Regions from separate parts of the Homo sapiens genome. Here regions 2, 3 and 4 are each linked to region 1. Evidence: promoter capture Hi-C in 16 types of primary human blood cells and fetal thymus (Javierre and others, 2016). All regions are on one chromosome and are shown on one strand. Each heading gives the region's core, a stretch centred on a gene start or on the middle of the fragment in contact. The rest is flanking DNA. Distances are from core to core; before and after follow the strand shown. Region 1 holds the start of MFAP1 (microfibril associated protein 1). Region 2 overlaps CTDSPL2 (CTD small phosphatase like 2). Region 3 overlaps CTDSPL2 (CTD small phosphatase like 2). Region 4 overlaps CTDSPL2 (CTD small phosphatase like 2).

The links. Contacts are between HindIII fragments. The CHiCAGO score rates a contact against its expected background, and 5 or more counts as called.
Region 2: a fragment that was not itself captured here is called in contact with the fragment with the promoter of MFAP1 in region 1 in 2 of 17 cell types (endothelial precursors and erythroblasts); the score reaches 7.2 in endothelial precursors.
Region 3: a contact is called between a fragment that was not itself captured here and the fragment with the promoter of MFAP1 in region 1, in 1 of 17 cell types (endothelial precursors). The highest score is 6.2, in endothelial precursors.
Region 4: a contact is called between a fragment that was not itself captured here and the fragment with the promoter of MFAP1 in region 1, in 1 of 17 cell types (endothelial precursors). The highest score is 6.0, in endothelial precursors.

The regions. Positions count from the first base shown.
Region 1 is chr15:43,821,080-43,827,567 of GRCh38, forward strand. It overlaps MFAP1 (microfibril associated protein 1), which reads right to left and starts at 3,611. Exons shown (of 9, transcript NM_005926.3): 1 at 3,412-3,611. The coding sequence starts at 3,490. It overlaps WDR76 (WD repeat domain 76), which reads left to right and starts at 5,923. Exons shown (of 13, transcript NM_024908.4): 1 at 5,923-6,013. The coding sequence starts at 5,954. RefSeq lists enhancers at 3,415-3,674, 3,427-4,058 and a silencer at 5,892-5,951. The HindIII fragment of the contact is 28,469 bases long and covers 1-6,488 here.
Region 2 is chr15:44,515,062-44,521,549 of GRCh38, forward strand. It overlaps CTDSPL2 (CTD small phosphatase like 2), which reads left to right. Exons shown (of 13, transcript NM_016396.3): 11 at 4,108-4,234; 12 at 6,250-6,345. Among named protein-coding and RNA genes, the nearest start is that of EIF3J-DT, 19 kb to the right of the region's middle. The HindIII fragment of the contact is 2,419 bases long and covers 3,913-6,331 here.
Region 3 is chr15:44,500,373-44,506,860 of GRCh38, forward strand. The region is part of intron 8 of CTDSPL2 (CTD small phosphatase like 2); the gene reads left to right. Among named protein-coding and RNA genes, the nearest start is that of EIF3J-DT, 33 kb to the right of the region's middle. The HindIII fragment of the contact is 252 bases long and covers 3,357-3,608 here.
Region 4 is chr15:44,479,624-44,486,111 of GRCh38, forward strand. It overlaps CTDSPL2 (CTD small phosphatase like 2), which reads left to right. Exons shown (of 13, transcript NM_016396.3): 3 at 4,601-4,739. Among named protein-coding and RNA genes, the nearest start is that of EIF3J-DT, 54 kb to the right of the region's middle. The HindIII fragment of the contact is 1,898 bases long and covers 2,394-4,291 here.

The DNA of each region.
Region 1 (6,488 bases), core at 2,361-4,860:
TAGAGCACTGTATTTTTTGGGGTCTCGCTATGTTGCCCAGGCTGAAGAAAATATAGTTTTAAAATACCATTAACGGTCACAAGTAATCTATAAGATACTGTGGAATAAATCCAACAAACAATGTACAAGGCTTTTAGGAGGAAAAATATGTAATTTTATTGAAAGATAAAAAAGATGTAAATAGAGAAATATTTCATGTTCAAGGATGAGAAGATGGCAACTGCACCTGAATTAACCTATAAATGTATAATCTATCATTTTAATGCAATTCCATTAAAAGTTGTCTCCAGGCTTATTCCAAAATCATATGGAAGAACAGGAGGCCCCAAAATGCCAAGACAATGCTGAAGAAGAATAAAGCTGATGGGGGCGGGGAAGGAGGGGTGGGGCATAGTTTACCAGATATGTCAGTGACCCAGGAAGTACACAGAGATCAATGTAACAGAGAAAAGAAAAACAAACTTATATGAGAACTCGAGTATATTATAGGGATGGCATTAAAAATCAGTAGAAAATGGATGGGGTGAGAAGGGACAATTGGCCAACCATATAGTAAAATTAGACCTCTAACTTCCACCACAGACACAAAAATTCCAGATGGATTAAAGACGCAACTATGAAAAACTTATCTTAAATATTTACATTCCCTACTGGACTGTAAGCTAACTTATAATCTGTCTTGTATAAGTGTGTATTCAACTCAATTTAATATATACAAACACTCAGAAGATAGAAAACCTTTACAATATGAGTATCTGTGATCTCAGTGCAGGGAAGGATTATTTCTTAAACGATATACAAAAAAAAGCTAAAACCATACAAGATAAAGTTGATAAATCTGATAATACTAAAACTAGAAACGTGTGTAAGAGAAGACTCCATAATTAAAAGACAAGCCAAAAAATGGGGAAACGTATACTATAGATTTGGAATATATAAAAACAAAGCAAACAGAAAGTGGGTAACTGACAGAAACAGGTAATTCATGGAAAAGAAAATCTAGAGAGCTTATTAGACACATGAACAAGATGCCCAGCATCGGCCGGACGCAGTAGCTCTATGGTGAGCCGAGATGGAGCCATTGCACTCCAGCTTGGTCAACAAGAGTGAAACTCTTTCTCAAAAAAAAAAAAAAAAAAAGCCCAGCATCACTAGTAATCAGGGGAATGCAAATTAGAATAATGAGATACCATTTCACACCTGTTAGATTGGGCAAAAAATGTAAAAATCTGATACAACCAAGTGTGTAGATGATGAATATATGGGAAATAAAGCTCTTAGGTTCTCAAAGTTTGTTTTCTTTTTTTTCTTTGAGACAGAGTCTTGCTCTGTTGGCCAGGCTGGAGTGCAGTGGCATGATCTTGGCTCCATGAAACCTCCACCTGCCGGGTTCAAGTGATTCTCCTGCCTCAGCCTTCCAAACAGCTGGGATTACAGGCGTGCGCCATCACACCCGGCTAATTTTTGTATTTTTAGTAGAGACGGGGTTTCACCATGTTGGCCAGGCTGGTCTCAAACTCCTGACCTCAGGTGATCCACCCATCTCGGCCTCCCAAAGTGCTGGGATTACAGGCCTGAGGCATCACGCCCAGCCTTTGTTTTAACAGACAGGGTCTTGATCTGTTGCTTAGGTTGGAGTGTAATGGCACAATCATAGCTCATTGCATCTTTGAACTTTCGAGCATAAGTGATCCTCCTGCTTTGGCTTCCCCCAAGTAGCAGGAGCACATCACTACATCCCGCTAATTTTTAATTATTATTATTATTATTATTTTTGAGACGAAGTCTTGCTCTTGTCCCCCAGGCTGGAGTGCAATGGTGCGATCTCGGCTCACTGCAACCTCTGCCCCCTGAGTTCAAGTGATTCTCCTGCCTCAGCCTACCGAGTAGCTGGGATTACAGGCGCCTGCCACCACACCTGGCTAATTTTTGTATTTTTAGTAGAGACGGTTTCACCACGTTGGCCAGGTTGGTCTCGAACTCTTGACCTCAGGTGATCCACCAGCCTCAGCCTCCCAAAGTGCTGGGATTACAGGCGTGAGCCACCGCGCCGGGCCCTAATTTTTATTTTTGCAGAGATTGGCGGGGGTGGGGGGTGGTCTCGCTATGTTGCCCAAGCTGGTCTTGAACTCCTGGCCTCAAGCGATCCTCCTGCCTCAGCCTCCCGAAGTGCTGAGATTACAGGTGTAAGCCACTGTGCTCCACAAATTCTTATGTTCTTATAACTTACTTTGGGGAGCAATTGGCAACAGGTACTAAATAAAGCTAGTATTGGCTAGAGAATGACAATTGCAGAACTTTCTTTTTTTTTTTTTGAGAGAGTGTCTCACACTGTGGCCCAGGCTGGAGTGCAATGGTGCGATCTCTGCTCACTGCGACCTCCACCTCCCGGGTTCAAGCAATTCTCCTGCCTCAGATTCCCAAGTAGCTGGGATTACAGGTACCCACCACCATGCATGGCTAATTTTTTGTATTTTTAGTAGAGACGGGGTTTCGCCATGATCGCCAGGCTGTCTTGAACTCCTGACCTCAGGTGTTCAGCCCGCCTCAGCCTCCCAAAGTGCTGGGTTTATGGGCATAAGACACCGTGCCTGGCCGCAGCACTTTTTTGAACAAGGGGACAACCACCTGCCTCTCAGTAGGGAATAAAGTGTGGATTACAGTTTATTTTATACAATGGAATTCATAAGCTGTTAAGATGAATGAATTAGATGTATAGGGATCCAAAGATAATTCTCAAAAGCCATGTTGAGACTAGATACGGCGGCATCTACTCGGGAGGCTGAGGCAGGAGGACAGCCTGAGCCCCAGGAATTCGAGTCCAGCCTGGGCAGCATAAGCAGACTTCTATGGACAGCAAAAGAGGGACTGTATCCCGCACAATGCCCTGCCAACAGGCATTCTCTATCTATCTATCTAGTCTGATATTATATACATATTCTGATATATACTTAAGTTCCTAATTATTAGATTAATAATATACTTAAGTTCCTAAGTAATTACACTAATAATACATAAATTCTTGTAATTATATGTAATTAGTGATATTATATTCTAATCATAATATATATTAGACTAATACATATATTCTAGCATATATATATTAGACATATATATTCTGATATATACTTAAGTTCCTAATGTTTTTATATGTGTAATATATATTATATATATGTAACATTAGTCTAAGGAATTTGTGGAGGCTAACAGAAGAGAGGTGCTTGCTGAATACGAGAGCAGGCCACAGGAACAAGATCGGATGCAAGTGGGTGGGGGTGGAAAGATCGAAGAATCTGGCAGCCAGATCTCAAGAGCTGGCGGGGTTGGAGTGGTCTGTCCGGGAGAGGTCTGGAGGTTGCTGGGGCCGGAAGGGGTTAAAATTCGACTGGGAAGAGGGTGTTAGCACCGTACCTTTCTCATTGCGAACTGGGACGGCCCCAGCCGTAGACTGAATGGGCGGTTGCTTCATGAGAGCGCTTGGGACCGACATGTTGATGGCAGCGACGGTGATTCCCGAAACTTGACTAATTCCAAACAGTGAACACCAGCAACGTCAACGAAGAGAAGAAATTCCTTCCACCTGAGTCCGCGAACACAGCTGCGCGACTGATAGAGAAACTACTTACGGCTGAGCTAGATAAACCGGAAATACGTGACGAGAGGATTGTGGGATGGTGGACGACGTTTGGGCGCCCACAGCTAGGAAGTCGAGTCGGTTTCTGCGCATGCTCATTGGCTGCCCGCATGTCCTCTACGTCGCAGAATTTGGAAGCAGCTTTTGGCGGGAAATTTTGCTTCCTTTGGGCTTTGCTGTTAGGACTCTGCGGTGAGGAAGGTTCGAATGAAAGATTTTACGTGTTAGCTTGGTTTGAAGCCAAGAACGGTATAGTGAATAAGAAACTCAGGCGACAGTGAGTTACTGTTTGAATGGCTTGTTGAAAGCTCAGAAGAAGTAGAGTTTGATGGAATAAAAATCTTGCCAGTAGTATCCGATTAGCTTAGTTCATAAGGCCAGGGTGGGCTGTGGTGCGGTATTTGGTTTCACAGGGCAGGTGGTGCTGATTTAGGCCAGTGACCGAAAAAAAAAAAAAAAAAACTCCCGAGGTGCCTGGGACATTGCCCACCTGAAATCCCAAAACTCCACTTTTTTAGGCTTTCAGGTTTTTCCAGTTTCTGGAAACTACCTATTAAAATACATTCCTGGCTAGAAAATGTTTGTATTTAAATATCTAAGTAATTATTATTCTTTTGAGACTGTCTTTTTCTGTCACCCAGGCTGGAGTGCAGTGGCTCGATCTCAGCTCACTGCAGTCTCCACCTCCCGGGTTTAAGCAATTCTCGTGCCTCAGCCTTCTGATTAGCTGGGATTACAGGCGCCTGCCACCACTCCCTGCTGATTTTTGTATTTTTAGTAGAGACGAGGTTTCACCATGTTGGCCAGGCTTAAGTGATCCGCCCACTCCGGCCTCCCACAGTGCTGAGTGTTGGCGTGGGCCACCACTCCCGGCTAATTTTTGTATTTTTAGTAGAGGCAGGGTTTCGCCATGTTGCCCAGGCTGGTCTTGAACTCCTGACCTCAGATGATCCACCTACCTCGGCCTCCCCAAAGTGCTGGGATTACAGAGGTGAGCCACCGCACCCGGCCTATTTAAGAACTCTTTAAGGACTTACAGGATAATAACAGAAGCAGCTCCAATTTACAAGCTGAGTCGTGTTAAAAAATATATATAATATTGGCTAATTGGAAAGTCAGGACACATTTCACAGTAGAAAGGACTTTATAACTGCGGGGGAGACAAGGGACAGTAGGAACAAAGTCTTAAAGTCCAGAAACAGTATGTTTTATACAGGACACCATGAAAAGTTTGGTTTTATCAGTAATTTTTGAGTCATGAGGGGCCTTGAAGTTGCTATTAATATGATTAACCCAAATTACTTCACCTGTGTTCTACAATTGGGCCTTGAGTGGGAGAAGAAATGAAACTGGACAAATCTCAGGCAAGGAACAGTGTGGGACCCAACTAAGCAACCAAGGAAACAGTTTTGGGCTAGAAGGAACCTTAAAGAGAATAGCCAGAATCTTATTTTATTATTTATAGAAGAGGGTCTTGCTCTGTCGCTCAGGCTGGAGTTCCGCGCAATCACGGCTCACTGTGGCCTCATCCTTCTAGGTTCAAGCCATTTTCCCACCCCTGCCTTCTGAGTAGCTGGGACTACAGACGTACAACACCACGCTGGGCTAATTTTTGTATTTTTTATAGAGATGGGGTCTCACTATGTTGCCCAGGCTGGTTTGGAACTCCTGGGCCCAAGTGATCCACTCCTCTCGGCCTCTCAAAGTGTTGGGATTACAGGCGTTAGCCACCGCTCCCGGCCTGTTAGTGTTTTTCAAAGCGACATCCCAGTACCACCAGAATCAAAATCACCAGTCAAAGGTAAAAATGTCAGTTCAGCCCCAGGACATCCCTAAAGAATTTGAGTCTAGGGCTTTAAGACAGCATTTTTTTTTTTTTGAGACGGAGTCTCACTCTTGTTGCCCAGACTGGAGTGCAATGGCGCGATCTCAGCTCACTGCAACCTCTGCCCCCTGGGTTCAAGCAATTCTGCCTCAGCCTCCTGAGTAACTGGGATTACAGGCACGCGCCACCAAGCCCGGCTAATTTTTGTAATTTTAGTAGAGACGGGGTTTCGTCATGTTGGCCAGGCTGGTCTCAAACTCCTGACCTCAGGTGATCCGCCGCCTCAGCCTCCCAAAGTGCTTAGGATTACAGGCGGGAGCCACCGCGCCTGGCCAAGGCGGCCTTCTTAAGAAGCGCGCGTAAAACCCCAACTTCCTGCTCTGGCGCTGCGGCCGCTGGGGATCTGAGTGGGCTCCGCCCCGCCTCGGACCCGCCCCTCCCGGCCTCCCGCCGCAATCTTGGCGGGAAGGCGCCGGCCGCTAAGAAGCCGAAAGATGTCCAGGTCGGGCGCGGCGGCTGAGAAGGCGGACTCCAGACAGCGACCCCAGATGAAGGTGAGAAACGGACTGGTGCTTCCAAGGTGTGCTCCTGCCTCGGTTTTTGTGAGGGTTATGCGGGACACAGGCCCAGGAGGTCGAGGGCACCTGGCACCGGGGGTAGGCGGGGGATCCCTGCCCTTAGGCCTTCAGCTTTGACGAAAGGTTCTTATCAATAACCCGAGAAATAGTGGGAGAGTCACATCTGGGATTCCCTTTCTTCAACCTTCTGCGTTTTCTTCTGCCACAGTTATGATCGGCTTCACACTCTTTAAATAATTCCAGACAATCCGCAGCTGACAGTTGGGGTATTTGCCCCAGTCACAAATGCTAGTCATTATTATTATTGGTCTGGAAAACTTATGGGCAAATGTGCCCAGTAAGTGAATTCTACTGAGGTTAAGGTTAGTGAATTACATATCTAGGATTTTGGAGGGGAAAATAAGTTTTCTTACGAAGGGTGTCAATTTGGATTTATTTATTTTTTTGAGCT
Region 2 (6,488 bases), core at 3,872-6,371, 700 kb after region 1:
CACTGTGACATCTATATCCTCATTTCTTTTGGGATTGGGGAAGACGGGGGTTGGGGGGGTTGTGTGGAATTTTTCCACGTTGTGCATGATGTTTCATCTCCATATGTCTCTGAGGTAATGCATGTTAATTTACTTTTTAATGGCATAGAGAAATAAAAATTATTTTTTAACAGAAAGGATCAAATTAAGCCCTTGCTTTTTTTGAAAGCAAATTTATCTTCCATGGAAAGAAAATGTTACATGAATCTGATTGGAAATTACAGTGGGTTTAGTCACTCAGGTTATCCTGACTGGACTCAGTTCCTTGTGTGTGCCCTGAGCCAGCAGATGCAGTGTTTTCCTGGTTAGTGGGAGTGCCGTGGTGATTTTAAAATATTATGATAATTAGTTCCATTATTTTGTCAGCTGAAGTGAGATAGTAAGACTGCAGCAGTCTTGCTGTATCCTTTAAGAGGAGGGGTTAATCTTTGAATTTTTGATCAAAAGCTGAGAGAGATGACACAAACGGCTCATAAAAGCTTTAATAGGGCCAGGCGCGGTGGCTCACGCCTGTAATCCCAGCACTTTGGGAGGCTGAGTCTGGCTAATCACCTGAGGTCAGGAGTTCAAGGCCAGCCTCACCAATATGGAGAAACCCCGTGTCTCTACTAAAAATACAAAATTTAGGTGGGCGTGGTGGCGCATGCCTGTAATCCCAGCCACTCGGGAGGCTGAGGCAGGAGAATCGCTTGAACCCGGAAGGCGGAGGTTATGGTGAGCCGAGATCGTGCCGTTGCACTCCAGCCTGGGCAACAAGAGCAAAACTCCATCTCAAAAAAAAAGACTTTAATAGCTGGGTTGGTTGGTTGGTTCGTTCGTTCTTTCTCTCTCTCTTTCTTTCTTTCTTTCTCTCCTCTCTCTTTCTCTATTTCTTTCTTTCTTTTTCTTTTTTTTTTTTTTTGAGGCGGATTCTCACTCTGTTGCCCAGGCTGGAGTGCAGTTTGCAATCTCTGCCTTCTGAGTTTAAAAGATTCTCCTGCCTCAGCCTCTCGAGTAGCTGGGACTACAGGTGTGTGCCACCACACCTGGCTAATTTTTAGTGTTTTTAGTAGAGATGGGGTTTCATCATATTGGCCAGGCTGGTCTTGAACTCCTGACCTCAAGTGATCCACCCACTTTGGCCTCCCAAACTGCTGGCATTACAGGCGTGAGCCACTGCACCCAGCCCAGCTGAGTATAAATTTTCTTAAATACTTTTCCCATGTTGTCTTACTGGAAAATCCTAAAGTGTATTTTCTGCTGTTAACAGTACCTTTATTATTCAGTGGTTGCAAGTATACTGAAAGGCTTTTCCTAATGTTCATATTTTGGAAGGTTTTTTATTCTAAATAAAGCTGTGGTATCTTTTGTTTTTTAATCTAAAGGGTCAAAATAAGTAAGCTGCAGTCACACAAATGGGAAATGGTATTTTCTGTTCACAAAAGTATATTGTAATTTATGCTAATTTTACCTCACTTTACTAAAGTATACCCAGTGATTTTGTTTTGATGACTTCATTCATTATAATGATTTCTGTTCAGCATCTCCAGTATTCCAGGGAACAGTGGTGAGCAACACAAGCTCTTCCCTCTTGGAGCTTTCATTTACTAATGAGGAACAAATGATAGTCATGTTATGACAATGTGTTATAAATTAACAATCCTCTTTTAAACTAGATTTATAAAACCTACACACTTGAGGGTTTCCATTTGTTCTATCTAGATGTATTTTGAGAAATCTGAAACAAAAGCTTGTTTTTTTGTTTGTTTGTTTGTTGTTTGAAACAGTCTTGCTCTGTCACCCAGCCTGGAGTGCAGTGGTGCGATCTTGGCTCACTGTAAACTCGGCCTCCCAGATTCAAGCGATTCTCCTGCCTCAGCCTCCTGATAAGCTGGGATTGCAGGCGCGCATCACCACGCCCAGCTAATTTTTGTATTTTTAATAGAGACGGGGTTTCATCATGTTGGTCAGGCTGGTCTGGAACTCCTGACCTCGTGATCCGCCCACGTTGGCCTCCCAAAGTGCTGGGATTACAGGCGTGAGCCACCGCGCCTGGCCAACAAAAGCGTTTCAAAGAGTAGATTGTGAGTGCTATAGGGAATTGTCTGTGTTGGTGACAAGGTAGACTCTAAGAAATTCCTATGATCTAGGCTGAGTGCCGTGGCTCACGCCTGTAATCCCAGCACTTTGGGAGGCCAAGGCAGGCGGATCACGAGGTCAGGAGTTCAAGACCAGCCTGGCCAACATAATGAAACCTCGTCTCTACTAAAAATACAAAAAAAATTAGCTGGGCATGGTGGCAGGCGCCTGTAATCCCAGCTACTCGGGAGGCAGAGGTTGCAGTGAGCCGAGAGTCTGCCATTGCACTCCAGCCTGGGCGACAGTGGGAGACTCCGTCTCAAAAAAAAAAAAAGAAGAAAAAAAGAAATTCCTGTGATCTCTAAATCTCATGAGTTTCTAACACAAGTCTGTACTCACATGGATGATCTGCTCTTTGATGACTGGTACAAATAGTTTTTTTCTAAAAATGCAAATACATGCTATACACCCTCAGATTCCTGAATGAATAATTGGAAGGCTTTTACTGTAATTTAATTAAAATAACTGTAGTATCCACGTACAGATTCAGTTGTCTCCTGTCTCAATGAGTTTGCCACTATCGGTGAAGAGGCATCAACAGTGACTTGAATTTACATGCTGTATCTGCCTTTCCAGTTTCCTCATATCTAAATGTTTATAGAAATAAAACAGTGAATCTTATTTAGGCCCAACCAAGGCTTGAATTAATTTACTTAGTCTTTTTTGTTGTTGTTTTTTCAAAGTAGAACTGACTAAACTTTCCCGGGGCCAGATGATCGTTTGACTGTGATTATTAAAGTTATTCCTTATAATAAGGGGGAAAGAACTGCTTATACATTTTGTCTGTTCGTTAAATTCTTCCTTTTTGCCATACCAACTGGCACTGATAATTTTAAGGTTGAGTTTTTATTTGTGTGTGTATATGTAGATTTTTATTTATTCTTGGTAGCACTGTGACAGATTTTGTGGGTAGAAAATACCAGTTTCTTGAAATTGCATAATTTAAAATACAGGTCCAAATAGGTCCTAGATTTTGTAAAATTGTTAGTGTGATTAAGACACAAGGAAGACAACTTACCAATTATTAATATATACAGAATAGAGTACTTCAAGGTAGAAAAAAATTATATGAAACAATTATTAGTAATGTTCAGAGACTAGTATTTTGAGTATAAATTGAGATTATAATAATCACTTTAGTATTGTAAAACCTTTAATAGCTTTCTAAAATGATGTAGTATTTTTCTATGTGAGTGAAATATCAGTTTACATTTATAATACTTGATACTTAAATCTGAATTCCTCATTTCACTTAATCTTTTTTCAAATGATCATACACATATACTAAAAGAGGGGTGTTTAGGAAAAGTTGAAATGATGGAATGTTTTGGTCTTAGGACCTTTTCTCAAAAAAAATAAGGAAATCTAAAAAGCATTTTTTCAAATGCCAACACAAAAACATTCCTTCTTATATTTTCTATTCTGGCATGTACAGGGATAGGGAGGCTGTGTGGTCCACTGGTTAGAGCCAAGGACTGGGAGCCAGGAGGATCCTGGGTTCCAATGCGGGGCTAACCACTGACTTACTGTGTGACCTTGGGCAAGTCACTTGACCTCCTTGTTCCTCAGTCAACCATCTGGAAAATTGGTTAAAAAGCAGGACCTCGCTGACAACCAGATGCTGCATCTGAGCTGAGCTTTCTTGGGTAAATAAATTACAAAAACAATTTAGAGTTTTTAATCCCCCTTTATAATTTAATAATAACATTTTGGGATAAACTCAAGTTCTTTAAGGCATAGTAATATTTGGTTGTAAGCTTTCAGTAATTGCTTAGAATTTTTATAGTAAAATGGCAGCCCAACGCTTAGACCCATATTTGTGTTTGAATTTCCTTCAAGAGAGAAAATCATATGGCTTAAACTATAAAGCCTATGGTGTATATATATGTGTATATGTTCTACTTTTTAGAAAGTTTTTTTTTTTTAATTTGTTTTTATTTTTATGTTTAGGCACCGGCTTTTCCGTGAACATTGTGTTTGTGTACAAGGAAACTATATAAAGGACTTAAATATTCTTGGAAGAGATCTTTCAAAAACTATAATAATTGACAACTCACCACAAGCCTTTGCATATCAGGTAGGAAGAAAGTTGATAAACAAACTCAGATTGGAAAAAATACAATGAAGACACATGCTGCCAAACAGAATATGATGGGAGAAGAAGAAGAGAATTTTCACTGGTGGAATTTCCCTTTAATGTGTCATTTTTTTAGAATTAGAAATGACAAAGTGGTATATTCCTTTTGGAAAATTTTTACTTAAATGACATGCAGCATAAATGAAGAAAAACCTGAGTAAGAAAACTATAAGATAAGCATCATTGAATAGCATTCTTATCAGTTATTAAATCAGTAATTAGTAATTTAATCATAAACATATTTGAGTACTATAGTTAGTTTATGTTCTTCTGGTCTGGTTATTTGGTTTAATGTTCTGAAATATTTTCTTAGACTATTTTGTCAATATATTTGTACCCTTTGTTAATATTTCTTTGACGTATAACTACAAATGTAGATGAGTCATCCTTCCTTCCTTTTGTTTTTTTGTTTTTTTTTGTTTTTGTTTTTTGAGAAGCAGTTTCACTCTTGTTGCCCAAACTGGAGTGGAGTGCAATGGCGTGATCTTGGCTCACTGCAACCTCCGCCTCCTGGGTTCAAGCGATTCTCCTGCCTCAACCTCCCGAGTAGCTGGGATTACAGGTGTCTGCCACCACGCCTGGCTAATTTTGTATTTTTAGTAGAGACGGGGTTTCTCCATGTTGGTCAGGCTGGTCTCGAACTCCCGACCTCAGGTGATCGCCTGCCTCAGCCTCCCAAAGTGGTGGGATTACAGGTGTGAGCCACTGCGCCTGCCTGATGAGTCATCCTTTCAAGGTATATTTTAGATTATGAATATGTCCATGTGATATGATTTCTTTTTTCTTTTTTTTGTTTTCCTTTTTTTTTTTTTGAGACGGAGTTTTGCTCGTCGCCCAGGCTGGAGTGCAGTGGCACGATCTCAGCTCACTGCAGCCTCCACCTCCCGGGTTCGTGATTCTCCTGCCTCCACCTCCTTAGTAGCTGGCACTACAGGTGCGCGCCACTATGCCGTGCTAATTTTTTTGTATTATTAGTAGAGACGGGGTTTTGCTGTGTTGGCCAGGCTGGTCTCGAACTTCTGACCTCAGGTGATCCCACCTGTCTCAGCCTCCCAAAGTGCTGGGATTACAGTTGTGAGCTACCACACCCAGCCCCATGTGATAGGATTTCTTAGATTTGCTTCACAATAAGCCAGTCCAGAATAGGGATGATGCAAAGTGGATTGGAGTATAAACTAGATTTGTCCTGTGTTTCAAAATGTCTATAATAAAAAGAAAACAAGTGAAAAGCTGTATATGATACTAAGTTATATTTAGGTCCTTACTTTTATTTGTTTACATTTAAAAATGTCTTTTAAGAATTTCATCTTGGTTCCTAGTTAAAATTATATCAATTATCCTCCATCTCATATACAACATTTAGCCTAAATTTTAAAACATTTTATCCCAGAGATTATTCACCATAAAATAAATATGGCTTGCATTCTTGTTTTTAGGCTCCTCTTCAATGAAATACCATTAATTTGTTAAGTTTCTACTATATTTCAAGTTATCATCCTACTCGATGGGAATAGAATAATGAATGGGAGATATGGTCACTGTATTTAAGGGGAAAAAAAAGTATAGGCTTTTCTATATTCTCTTTAGATTGGCAGTGTCCCATCATTCACAGTGCCTACCTAGCATTGTACTAATTGTAACTATTTCTTGAAGGAATAATGGAATATTTTATTTATATTAATGATCCTTATAAAATGTATTTTAATGGAACTTTCTTGTTTAGTTTTATATACTCTGAGAAGAAATGACACTGAAAAACCAATAGGCTTCAATTTATTTCCTTATCCTCTGTCTCTTGCACTATTGAGTTGTCAAAGAAAAGTCTGGTGACATTACTTTTCAAAGGAACTTTTAGATCAGTGTTTACTTAATAAATCTTTGTTTATTTTTTAACTTTTTCCAAACTAGGTAAAATATAAGTAAAAGAGGATTTAATTACTTATTTATTGTTTTAGCTTTCTAATGGAATCCCTATAGAAAGTTGGTTTATGGATAAAAATGACAATGAACTCCTAAAATTGATTCCATTCCTGGAGAAGCTTGTAGAACTGGTAAGTGTAGCTTATCTTTTTCTGTTGTGTTTTTGTTAGCTCAACTATATTGAAATAAATATTTTTAAATGTCTTTGCTTTGTGTGTACTGACTTATAAAGTCAACTGTGAGCCAGGTCACAGGTGCCATCATAGGCGCCTGT
Region 3 (6,488 bases), core at 2,233-4,732, 680 kb after region 1:
AATATCATTAACATTTCACTGTGGATTATGTGTGCTGGCCATAGTTTTTACTTTAAGGTTTTTCCATTATTATAAGATTGAGTTAATAATATAAGTGAATACACTTTGAAAATTGCAAAGTACGTTTCTGTTTTGGAGGTTGTTATTTAACTAGCATTATTTGCATTATATAATAGTTGAAAGATTGGGAATCGAAAAGTTTGTTGTCTGTCAAGAGGGAGCCAGCCTAAAGATTAACTTAGTAAAGTCACAGAGTGCTTGCCATGTGGATGATGAAAATGTGTTTGGTTGTTTATGTGCTCTTAAAGGCAGTTAGAATGTGGTTATAGTTTTCTTGGCAGATAATAGTTGATGTCTCACAGAAACCGTGAAATTTAAGAGTTAAATAGAAGTTTGTGGTTCATGGCTACTTTAACCTACTTTGTCTAGTAATGAGTTGTAAGAGGATTTATTTTAGTTGTCAGTTCTAGTTTTAACCTAGGGTAGGTATTGTAGCTATGGCAATAAATATTTGAATACTGAATTCACTTTTTATGTAAGCTGATTTTAGTCCTGATGTATAATCGGGGGTAAGCAAAATGTACATAAAATTAAAAGATTTAAAGATTTTTCTGTTCCCTTTCAAAACTGATGATTATTTGGTTTAAGGCAAGTATTTTTCTTAAGACCTTTTTTATCAAATTTGTTGTTCTTGTTTAGTGGACTTTAAGGACAGGAGTCCTTGTGGCAGATGTAAATAGTATAGTGATATCTTAGTTTTCTCTTTTAAGCTCGATAACCTTGTTGGGGTTTTTCTTTGTTTTTTGCTTTTGGGTGTTTTTCGTGATTGCATTTGAAAAAAATGGCTTTAAGGCTTTGAATTTGGAAAGGAAAGCTATTAATTGAAAAATATAGATAAACAATGATTTTGAGATGACTTCTTAAGCTTCTAGGTTTGAAATTGAAATTTATTTCTTACAGATGGTTTTTGTTCTGTTTATGTAATTCTTAGTAGTGAATAAGAAACTTAAGTAGGTAAATTTGATTCTTCCCTTTCATGAGCGTTTCTCTTCAGTATGATCATAAAATTGAATTTTTTTCTTACTGCTTCTACCATTTCTGCTTTAACTCTCTTTTTAAAGTTCTTATTATTTCATGTGGATCTGGATAGTTGTCTTATTTTGAATAAAAAGCTTCTAGCAGCATATATGACTAATTAAAATACTGTATGTATGTACTGCATCTACCTCTGTGGAATTCAGACAACTCTTTTTCTTATGTATTCTGAGTTACACTTTCTGAAACTGAAAAATAAATGATCTAGCCTAAATGAGAGCACAGAGCAGGTAGTTTGAACCTTATAAGCTATAGAGATGATTGCACTTTAATACGATTTAGTTACCATATCACAGACAGAGTTTAGTTACTTTTTAGTAAATTTTTGAGGATATCCGTAGTTAATATTGGGTACATTCCCTTGGATTTCTTATTTTGGCATAGCCATTCTGTCTTTTAAAAAATAAATGAAGAAATCTTTGGGTTAGGGTTCCCCCAGTTTTCAGACCAGCAAGCTCCCTTTAAACAGGGAATGATGTCTTTTAAACTTTCAGTGGTGTTGTCTCCATCTACTGGCAAAGAAGAAATATACACAAGGGTCTGAGATGATCTAAGAGATATTGGAGAAACCACATTATTAGGTAAGATGTAACTTAAATCTTTAACCACTGTACTATGATGTGGCCCACTTAAAGGTAGAAATCTGTAAAGTACTGCATATACTCTTATTTTTTAAAAAATTTATTGAGGTGAAATTTACATGACAAAATTAACCATTTTTAAATGAACAGTTCCATAGCGTGTATCTGTATTATTCTTGAATGTTAGTTTTATAGCATTTACATATATATGTATATATATTTTATATGTAAAGATCAAATTTTTCATCTGAAAGCCAGATGGAGTGTCCTCTTGGGACTTATTTTACGTTTTTTTTCTTTCTGTGGTATATTTGTTATGGTTGACCTATAACTAATTTTAACTCTACATGTTATTTCTGTTTCATTTCAAAATAATTTAATTGTATTATATATGTTTTAATAATTGTCTATATCAGGGGTTGGCAACCTTTTTCTATAAAGGGCCAGTTGTAAATATTTTAGGTTTTGTGGTCCCTGTCATGACTGCTTTTTGTGCTATTGCAGCATGAAAGTAGCCATGGACAATACATAAATGAAAAAGCATGACTGTGTCCCAGTACAACGTTATATACAAAAATCAGTGGCAGGCTGCATTTGGCCACCATAGTTTGCTGATTCCTGGTCTAATAATTATGAGAGTATATACAGTAAATTTACATATTCAAATTGTAAGTAGAAGTAAGTAATCAAATGTTCATCAAAATTCTTGTAAATGTATGTAGAAAATTTAAATTAGATCCACAGTAATCTGGTTGTGGGCCTTTAAAGTTTTTTTAAAATCAAAGTTTGAGGGAACTTTGAGGTGGCCACTACTCACATTTAAAGATTGCCTGACTTAATGATACGTACTCTTCTTTTGGTTGATATGTAGGAATAAACTTGGTTAATGCAAGTCTTAGAATTTGTAAGCAGGTAGATTATTGTAAATTAGTACCTTGAGGTGTAATTTGAATTTCATTTCTCTAGGGGATTAAAAAAAAACCTGAAAGATCTATCTCAAATTAAAATTTGATGTATGTTACTACTGACACTATGTGGACTAGACAGAGTATAGTTTGTATATGGATAAAAAGTCATTTGAAAGAACCGACTTGTTAAACGTGAGGAAATGGCACTCATATAGGCAAAATTACAGGCTTTTTGTTTGAATGGGTCTATTTTTCTTAAATTGGTTTTTTTTTTACATTGTTTTATAATCAGTTATTAAGAAAACATGTATTCATAAAATGGTACAAATGCATTTGATATCTGGAAAAACAAGTGCATGATCACTTTTATTGCACATGTTTAATCTTTATATTTAGCCTATATTGGCACTTTGTCAGGAAATCCATCTCGTGGTGTTACTCAGTTAAGAGGTCTCCACTGTATTTAGTTTCTGTTCCTGCAGATCCACCAATTCAAGACTCTAGGTCATCTCACTCCCTCTTCCATCCCGAAGATGACTTCTATCCACAAGCAGGAGTGAATCAAAAGACATTTTTCACTTAGCTCTTGAGCTGAACCACCTCCTCAATGACCTTCCTCTGTCTCCATCAAGAACTGGAGCTCAGTTTTTTGAAGATGTAATAGAACTACTCAGCCCAAATGTGGCTGATTGAAGACAAAAAGAAGATACCTCATATGTTTCACCACAGTGCAGCCAAACGTAACTGTGTTGTCCAACTCCTCATTCTGTAAAGCTTGGCAGGGGCATCTGATTTTTGACTCTGTTCACCAATAAGACTTTAGCCAGTCAGTGGCTTTCTGAAGATCAGTAAAATCAACAAACTTTGGGTCAGCTGTCCAGAAATCAGATTGTGGTAAGCACTCAAGGACAGATAGGATCCCTGTAGGGAGCTACTTGTAAAAGATGCTTTGTTTTATTAGTAGAGGTTGCTTTTATGGGAAAAGTTGGGGGAAGAGGTGGATGGGGAAGGCCACGGTTAGCAAAGCTTACCCGCGTCCCCATTCTTTCAGTTTTCTTGGGAATCTTACAGCTTAGGATAATTTTCATATCACAGAACAAGAGAAGTAGAACCAGGTGCAGTGGCTCACGCCTGTAATCCCAGCACTTTGGGAGGCGGAGATGGGCAGATCACCTGAGGCCAGGAGTTCAGGACCACCCTGGCCAACATGGCAAAACCCTATCTCCACAAAAAAATAAAAAAAATTAGCCGGGCGTGGTGGCAGGTGCCTGTAATCCCAGCTACTCAGGAGGCTGAGGCAGGAAAATCACTTGAACCCAGGAGGCGGAGGTTGCAGTGAGCCAAGATTGCGCCACTGCACTCCAGCCTGGGCGACAAAGCGAGTCTCCATCTCAAAAAAGAAAAGAAAGAACAAGAGAAGTAGAGGGTCAGTTGCTTCTGTCTCCTCTTTACAGTCTTTTCTAGAAAAGTCAGCTTTATTTTTGCTTCATGAAGGAAAGAAACCAATCATTTAAATTTATAATTTTGTAGTAAATACCTAATTTTTTTCTCAAGTTCTGGCTTAAATTGATACTAACCAACATGCACATTGTTCTTGAGATTCATCTACAAAAGTAGCCTAAAAAAAACTTTTGAGGCCGGGGCAGTGGCTTGCTTGTAATCCCTGCACTGGGAGGCTGAGGTGAGAGGAATGCTTGAGCCTGGGAGTTTGAGACCGGCCTGGGCAAGATAGTGTGAGATCCTGTCCCTTCCAAAAAAAAAAAATTAGCCGGGCATGGTGGGGAGCACCTATAGTCCCAGCTACTCGATAGGCTGAGGCAGGAGGATTGCTTGAGCCAGGAGGCTGAGAAATCAGACAACCATTTCAGGGTCATAGTTGCATAGTATAGAGGATAAAACTAATATTTTAGCTTGTAGGGAACAATAATTCAATAATTAATTGTAGATGAATATTAAAAATACTACTTTAGAATAATTTTAAAGTCACTTTCCCATCCTTATTAGTATGTTTAGTTATTGGTACTAATTTTTTCATCATAATTATTCATTATTAATTGGCTAAAAAAAGGAAAAGATACAAATGAAACCAATAGTTCTCTATTTCTCAAAAATATGGAAAAATATATTTTATGGGGATTCTTTGTCTAAAATGTATCTTTCAAAATTAGGAGCAATTCATTAAAATAAAATAGAGGCCAGGTGTGGTGGCTCATGCCTGTAATGATAGCACTTTGGGAGCCCTAGGTGGGTGGATGGCTTGAGCTCAGGAGTTCAAGACCAGCCTGGGCAATGTAGTGAGACCTTGTCTCCACAAAAAATGCAAAAATAGGTGGCACACACCTCTAGTCCCAGCTACTTGGGAAGCTGAGGTGGGAAGATCACCGGAACCCCGAGAGCTTCAGGCCCTAGTGAGCTGTGATCACGCCACTGCACTCCACCCTGGGTGACAGAGAGCCAGTCTCAAAAAGAAAAAAAAGAAGGAGAAAAAACATACGGGCCAGCCATGGTGGCTCACACCTCTAATCCCAGCACTTTGGGAGGCTGAGGCAGGTGGATCACCTGAGGTCAGAGAGTTCGAGACCAGCCTAAACAACATGGTGAAACCCTGTCTCTACTAAAAAAAAGAAATTAGCTGGGCGTGGTGGCAGGTGCCTGTAATCTCAGCTACTCGGGAGGCTGAGACGGGAGAATTGCTTGAACCCGGGAGGGAGAGGTTGCAGTGAGCCGAAATCGCACCATTGCACTCTAGGCTGGGCAACAGAGCGAGACTCTGTCTCCCAAAAAAAAAAAAAAAGAAAAGAAAAGAAAACATACTATGTGGAAAGTTCTTATTTAATGGCTATAAATTTAGAAGGTGTGACAGTTGATTACATTAAATTGGAGGCTTCATTTCCTTTGAAGTTTAGAGTTTGAGTTTAAAGGTAACATTTTTGTTTTACTAAAATGGCCATTGTTTTGACTAAACTTTTATTAATGTAAATACATCAAGTTTTTTAACATATGCAAATATATGTACATACAATATAATGGCCAATTTTTCCCTGATGAAAATTATGCTTCATTGGTAACTTTTTTTTTTTTTTTTTTTTTTGAGACAGAGTCTCAATCTGTTGCCCAGGCTGGAGTGCAATGGCGCTATCTTGGCTCACCACAATCTCTGCCTCCCAGGTTCAAGAAATTCTCCTGCCTCAGCCTCCCGAATAACTAGGATTATAGGCACGTGCTACTGAGGCCGGCTAATTTTTGTATTTTTAGTAGAGATGGGGTTTTACCCTGTTGGCCAGGCTGGTCTTGAACTCCTCACCTCAAGTGATCTGCCCACCTCGGCCTCCCAAAATGCTGGGATTACCGGCATGAGGCATGAGCCACCATGCCCAGCCCCATTGGTAACTTTTAATATAAATCATATAAATCACCTATATGAATACATTAAGCTTCATTTTATCCTACTTTGACTTTTTTTTTTTTTTTTTTTTTGGAGGCATGGTGTCGCTGTGTCACCCAGACTGGAGTGCATTGACACAATCTCTGCTCACTATAGCCTCTATCTTCCAGGCTCAAACCGTCTTCTCACCTCAGCCTCCCAAACAGTAGCTGGGACTACAGGAATGTGCCACCATGCCCTTTTTTGTATGTTTTGTAGAGACGGGGTTTCTCTGTGTTGCCCAGGCTGGTCTCAAACTCCTGGGCTCAAGCAATCCACCCAGTTCAGACTCCCAAAGTGCTGAGATTACAGATGTGAGCCACCGTGCCCTGCCTGTACTCTTTAAAAAATTTCTTTTCAGGTTGATTTCTGTTTGAGTAAGGTTTTGCAGGAACTTTTTTTTTGAGACAGAGTCTCGCTCTGTCGCCCAGGCTGGAATGCAGTGGCACAATCTTGGCTCACTGCCAGCTCCGCCTCCCA
Region 4 (6,488 bases), core at 2,093-4,592, 660 kb after region 1:
ATCTCAAACTCCTGGCCTCAAGTGAGGCTCCTGCCTCGACCTCCCAACGTGCTAGAATTACAGGCCTCCACACCAGCCTCATATTTTCTTATTTTGCCTGATTTTGAAATAGAAGATTATAATTTTTATCTTTTCCCTATGCATCTTTTTCTGACACGTGTTCTTTATCTATAGAGGTATTGTTCTGCTCCACGTGTGTTTCATTATAGTAGTTTTGTGTGGGATTTGATATCTATACTTTCTTGCTCATTTTTATGTGAAATTAGTTTTTCTGAATTTTCAGAAAGTTATGTAGTTCAGGGTATCTCTTTGAACAAATTTTGTTTTTATGTAGTGTTTTTAAATATTGGTGATGCTTTTTGAGTTTTGTCTTTTATTTCTACCATGTGTTTATTTGGAATTTCTCTGTCTTTTCTCTCTGTGCCTGCCCTACTCACATTTGATTCCACTCCCAATACTTCCTCCTAAGTATGGAAACTTGTTCTAGAAGGGCGCCATAGTTGGTCAGTTTCAAGAGTTCATAGGAGCAGACTGTTCCTGTCATTTCAATTCTAGCCATAGACCCCCTATGCTATTGGATTGGACAGCAACTCCCCAACTCCCCTCCCCCTTATTTCATTTGCTGTTCTCAAATTGGCCTGCCGTGGTTTCCAGTGACTACCTACCTGTTAGGTATTTGGGGCTTCTTTTCTCAGGTGTGCCACCTCACTTGTTGCTTATTTCTGTTTTCCTTTGCACTGGTATATATGGACATTTAGTTATTGTGCCTGTTGGTTTGTTCTCATCTGCTTGCATTTTTGAGTGTGGGGGATACCTTGTCTTCTGGTTTCGTTGTAAATGTTGCCCATGGGTTTTTCTTGCCTTTTCAGTTCTCTGTATTTACATGGGGATTCATATATTTAAGAACACCTTCCCATCATTTTCCCCTTAATTACCTATCTTAGAGACAACTTTGAAAAATACAAATTTTGCACTGAGGTGGAAGGATAGCTTGAGGCTAGGAGTTTGAGACCAGCCTGGGCAACATAGCGAGACCCTGTCTCTACAAAAAATAAAAACATTAACAGGGCGTGATGTTATGTGTCTGTATTCCTAGCTGCTTGGGAGGCTGAGGCAGGAAGAATGCTTGAGCTTACGAGTTTGAGGCTGTAGTGAGCCATGACTGTGCTACTACACTCCAGTATGGGCGACAGAGACCCTGCCTCCATGAAAAAAAGAAAAAAGAAAAATACAGATTTTAGAGAAGACATTGTAGGATTACTGTATTTAGTGAAACAGCTTATATAGTAATGTAGAAACTGTGTCTTTCCTAGTTCGTCTTCCTCTTCTAAAAAATCCTACCATGTTCAAAGTATACCCAAATTTTACAGTTGAATGTTCACAGAAGACTAGGATTGGGTGACAAATTGTCATTCAGAATTGGATCATCAGGCTGGGCACCATGGCTCATGCCTGTAATCCCAGCACTTTGGGAGGCTGAGGCAGGAGGATTGCTTGGGGCTGGGAGTTCAAGACCAGTCTGGACAACATAGCAAGACCCTGTCTCTACTGGGGGGAAATAAAAGGATTGGATCATTAGGCATTTCAATGAATTATTCTGAAGAGTATGATTTTACTGTCAATGACTGCAGAATTTTAGTCTTGACCTTAATAGCTTCCTCTTCCGTTTTTGTAACCTGAAGTATTTGAATGTGTTCTAAAGTGACCGCCTTATAGTCTGTTCTGCAACAATATGTGGTGCCCCTACAATAATATTATTTAGCTTACTCACTATTGGTAAACAGGGGAGTAGTATCAATAACATAGTAGGGGGGAGGGGTTTGTAGATGATTTTCTTCTAAACCAGACAACAAACTGAATAATTAGAGTTGAATTTGATATTCTCTTCATCAGGAAAGTAAAAAGCCTCCAGTTCAGCTGCTACATAGGCACAAGTCCTTTCACCTGTATTTTTATTTTTATTTTTTGAGATGGAGTTTCACTCTTGTTGCCTAGGCTGAAGTGCAATAGCATGATCTCAGCTCACCACAACCTCCACCTCCCGGGTTCAAGCGATTCTTCTGCCTCAGCCTCCCAAGTAGCTGGGATTACAGATATGTACCACCATGCCTGGCTAATTTTGTATTTTTAGTAGAGACAGAATTTCTCTATGTTGGTCAGGCTGGTCCCGAACTCCCAACCTCAGGTGATCCGCCTGCCTCGGCCTCCCAAAGTGCTGGGATTACAGGCTTCAGCCACAGCGCCCGGCCTATTTTTATTTTTAATTAAAACTGATAATCTGCAGCAGATATTCTCTCTCCAGAGAGGTGCACCCTGGTCTAGCAGGGACTCTTCACATGTGGCAGTTTGCATTTCCTTTTGTACCCAACTTAACAGCAGCCCTGCTGGCTTAAAGCTTCACTTTTCCCATAAGCCCGTTTCTACTTCATTGTTTTTAGTACCCTTTATTATCCCCTGAGGTAGCATTCCAGCCCTCTTAGCTGCCTTACCTGCGTAGGGATGTCCAAGTTATCTCTGGTGGTCCCAGTCGTTGTTGTTTTAGAGACAGGGTCTCACTTTGTTGCCCAGGCTGGGGTGCAGTGGTGCAATCATAGCTCCCTGCAGCCTTGAACTCCTGGGCTCCCACCTGAGTCTCCCAAGTAGCTGAGATTACAGGCATGTGTCACCAAGCCCAGCTCCAATCATTGTTTTTGTTAGTGCTATGGTTACAAAGTTACAGGGGCATGAACTAATCTGCCCCAACATACCTCTCTCCCCTTCTGGACCCATTTTTTCCATAAGTTTTGTTACTTTTATTGTTGCAGAATGCAAGGTTTTCATGAATGTATGTATGTATGTTATAGCAGCTGTACTAGGACATTTCAGGGGGAGGCTAGGACTTAATGTAGTTGAAACTGCTGTATTATTTCTGTTCTTCAAAGACTTTATAAAGAGAGCTCCTGTATTTTTTGATAATGAAGATTCCATGTTTGTGATAGGAGGCTCCCTGATCCTCATTTTAAAATACAGGAGAATAGTACATGGTCAGAATTGGAAGGATTTTATTGTGGATCACTGAGGCATTATTGTATGCTATTGTAATTTTCACCATTTACAATGCCAAGTTTTGTTTCAGAAATAATGCAGCAATATCCAACTTGTAGAAAATGTATGTTAGTGCATTTTATTAGTTGCTGTAGGGTAAAAACATTAAATACAAAAAAGTAGAGATGAGAATGTTGATTATATGTATCAATTATATATAATATGTAAATTTGAAGATCTAATCCTTACCAAAAGATTTCAGGTAGTCTCATTAAAACAGTAAGGAATTATGTAGGGCAGTATTATAGTAATACTAGAAAATCACTCATGTGGCTAGGTGCTGTGGCTCATGCCTGTAATCCCAGCACTTTGGGAGGCCGAGGCAGGCGAATCACGAGGTCAGGAGTTCGAGACCAGCCTGACCAATATGGTGATGCCCTGTCTCTACTAAGAATACAAAGATTAGCGGGGCGTGGTGGTGCGTGCCTGTAATCCCAGCTACTCGGGAGGCTCAGGCAGGAGAATCGCTTGAACCCAGGAGGCGGGCGGAGGTTGCTGTGAGGCATGATCGTGCCACTGCACTCTAGCCTGGGTGACAGAGTCAGACTCTGTCTCAAAAAAAAAAAAAAGAAAAAGAAAAAATCACTCATGTGCATGACTCTAGAAAAAATTTACAAATGAGGCTGGTCACAGTGGCTTACGCCTGTAATTCCAACCTCGTCTCTACTAAAAATACAAAAATTAGCTGGGCATGGTGGTGGGCGCCTGTAATCCCAGCTACTCGGGAGGCTGAGGCAGGAAAATCGCCTGAACTCAGGAGGTTGAGGTTGCAGTGAGCCAAGATCACACCACTGCACCCCAACCTGGGCAACAGAGGAAAAACTCTGTCTCAAAAAAAAAAAAATTTACAAATTAGAAAACTATATATATAAATAGTAAAACATAAATCATCCTAATGGCTGAAAGTATACTATTTTAGTCCATTAGTACTGCAAGAATAGTATAAACTGGTCATGGGGACTTGCCCCATATAAGGTAGCAAATAGAGAGCTTTGTTAAGGGGTAGACTCTATATTATTTATTCTGGTAATTGAATAATTGAGGTAGGCAGTGCGGGTGTGGCAGTGCCAGGCCCCACCTTTATCCCCACCCTCTATTTTTGGGCTATATGTGACTTGCCAGCACATTCAGTGGGGCTCCCTCTCCTACCCTGAGTTGCTTAAGGAAATTATCTCTGTTCTTAAGGACACTTCTAAAAATGAGGGAAAGCTTTTGAAGATTCAGAGCACATTCTATAATTCAATATTTTGATAGCATGGAAAACTTAATGGACCTTGGGGAAGGGATCTGAATTGTAGGGATGCTGTAATTGTATTTGTATATTGTAATTGCATTCATGTTCTTACAGCCCTGTCAAATTTTTTCTGTGTTGATATTACCTATAATTGCATTTTGTTTTTCCTGGATATGAAAAGCAGAGGAAAGTATATTATACCGTATTTTTTCATTTTAATATTGTAACCTGTAAGGCAGAATGATTGTGCTTAGTGTGTTTTTTTTTCTCTTATATCTTAAGGAAGAGAGAGAAAATCCTTCAAAACGGAGTAGAATTGAACGTGATATAGATAACAATTTGATCACGTCAACACCAAGAGCAGGAGAAAAACCTAACAAACAGATATCTCGAGTAAGACGGAAAAGTCAAGTAAATGGAGGTTTGTTAATATTTAGATACTGTTTTATTTAGGTGTAAGCAGAGATCTCACCTGACACATTTCTTATCTATTTTTAAAACTCTACTTTGAGGCCGGGTGCAGTGGCTCATGCCTGTAATCCTCACATTTTGGGAGGCCGAGGTCGGCGGATCATTTGAGGCCAGGAATTTGAGACCAGCCTGGCCAACGTGGCAAAACCCCGTCTCTATTAAAATCACACACAAAAAATTAGCCAGGCGTGGTGGCGCATGCCTGTAATCTCAGCTACTCAGGTGGCTGAAGGTTGAGAATCGCTGGAACCCGGGAGGCAGAGGTTGCAGTAAGCTGAGATTGTGCCACTACACTCCAGCCTGGGTGACAGAGTGAGACTCTGTCTCAAAAACAAAACAAAACTACTTTGAGTAATTTTTGCCTTAATTTTGTAATCTTTGTATTATTAGTAACATGAAGTGAAATAAAAATGTGCTAATTTGAATCTTACTTTGAATTAAAGTAAGTAAAGATAGAGTATATACCTTTATGCTATTTAGCATAAAAATGTATGTGGATCAACATTTTGAACATCTAAATAAACTCATTTCTTAAAGCAATAATAATTGTGACTTAATTTAATTGAAATATATACCAAATTTCTTCCTAGATTATTCTACTTAAGAGCTCAGAGGGGACTTGCATCACTTAGTCCAGTAGGTTTCAACTAGGGGTGATTTTTTCCTCCAAGGGACATTTGTCAATATCTAGAGACCTTTTTGGTTGTCACAACTTGTGGAGGGGTGGCTACTAGTGTCTACTAGGTGGATGTCAGAGATGTTAAACATCCTACAATACACAGGACAGCTCTTCAAAACAAAGAATTAGACTGAAATGTCAATACTGCCGCTGTTGATAAACTCTGTCAATACCTTGTTGCATAGCAGAGAAACTCCTCAAAGTCAAAAAGAAGGAGAATAGCATTAAGGAAAAGCAGAGACAGCTATAAAGAATAACACTTTAGAGCAACAGTCCCCAACCTCTTGGCAGCAAGGACCAGTTTTGTGGAAGACAGTTTTTCCACTGACAGTGATGGGAATGGTTTCAGGATGAAACTGTTCCATCTCAGATCATCAGACATTAGTTAGATTCTCATAAGGATCGCACAACCTAGATCCCTTGCATGTAAAGTTCACAGTAGGGTTCGTGTTCCTAAAAGAATCTAATGCAGCAGCTTATCTGCAGATAAGGTAGTAGAGGCAGAGCTCAGGCGTTAATGCTTGTTCACCTCCTGCTCTGCGGCCCAGTTCCTAATAGGCTGCGGACTGGTACCAGTGGGTATGGGGTTAGGGACCCCTGCTTTAGAGTATGGAGTACTGTTTTAACGAATGCTATCTTAAACACAGCAGCAATTTCTCCCCTTGTCTCTGCCCAGTGCAGCAATATATCTTTATTGTTAGAAAAAACAAACCAGGAGGGAGAAAAAGACTGAGACAAGACAAGGGGGACAAAATAGAGAAAGAAACAAGTTAAAAGAACCATAGCAAAGAAGGAAATAAGTGTTGTAGACATCAAAAGTTGAGGAGAATCAAAGGATGATTAATTAGAACAGTTGATTGATTTTACTTTTATATTCTTAAAAGATCTGTGGAACATTTTGATTTACAGGAAACTTAAAATTATTTTCCCTAGCCACTCTGAGATGGCGTCTCAGTGTCCATAAGTAATTTTTGACACTGCTATATATAGCCTTTTGCTTCAGTAGAGTTATGTTGCCTC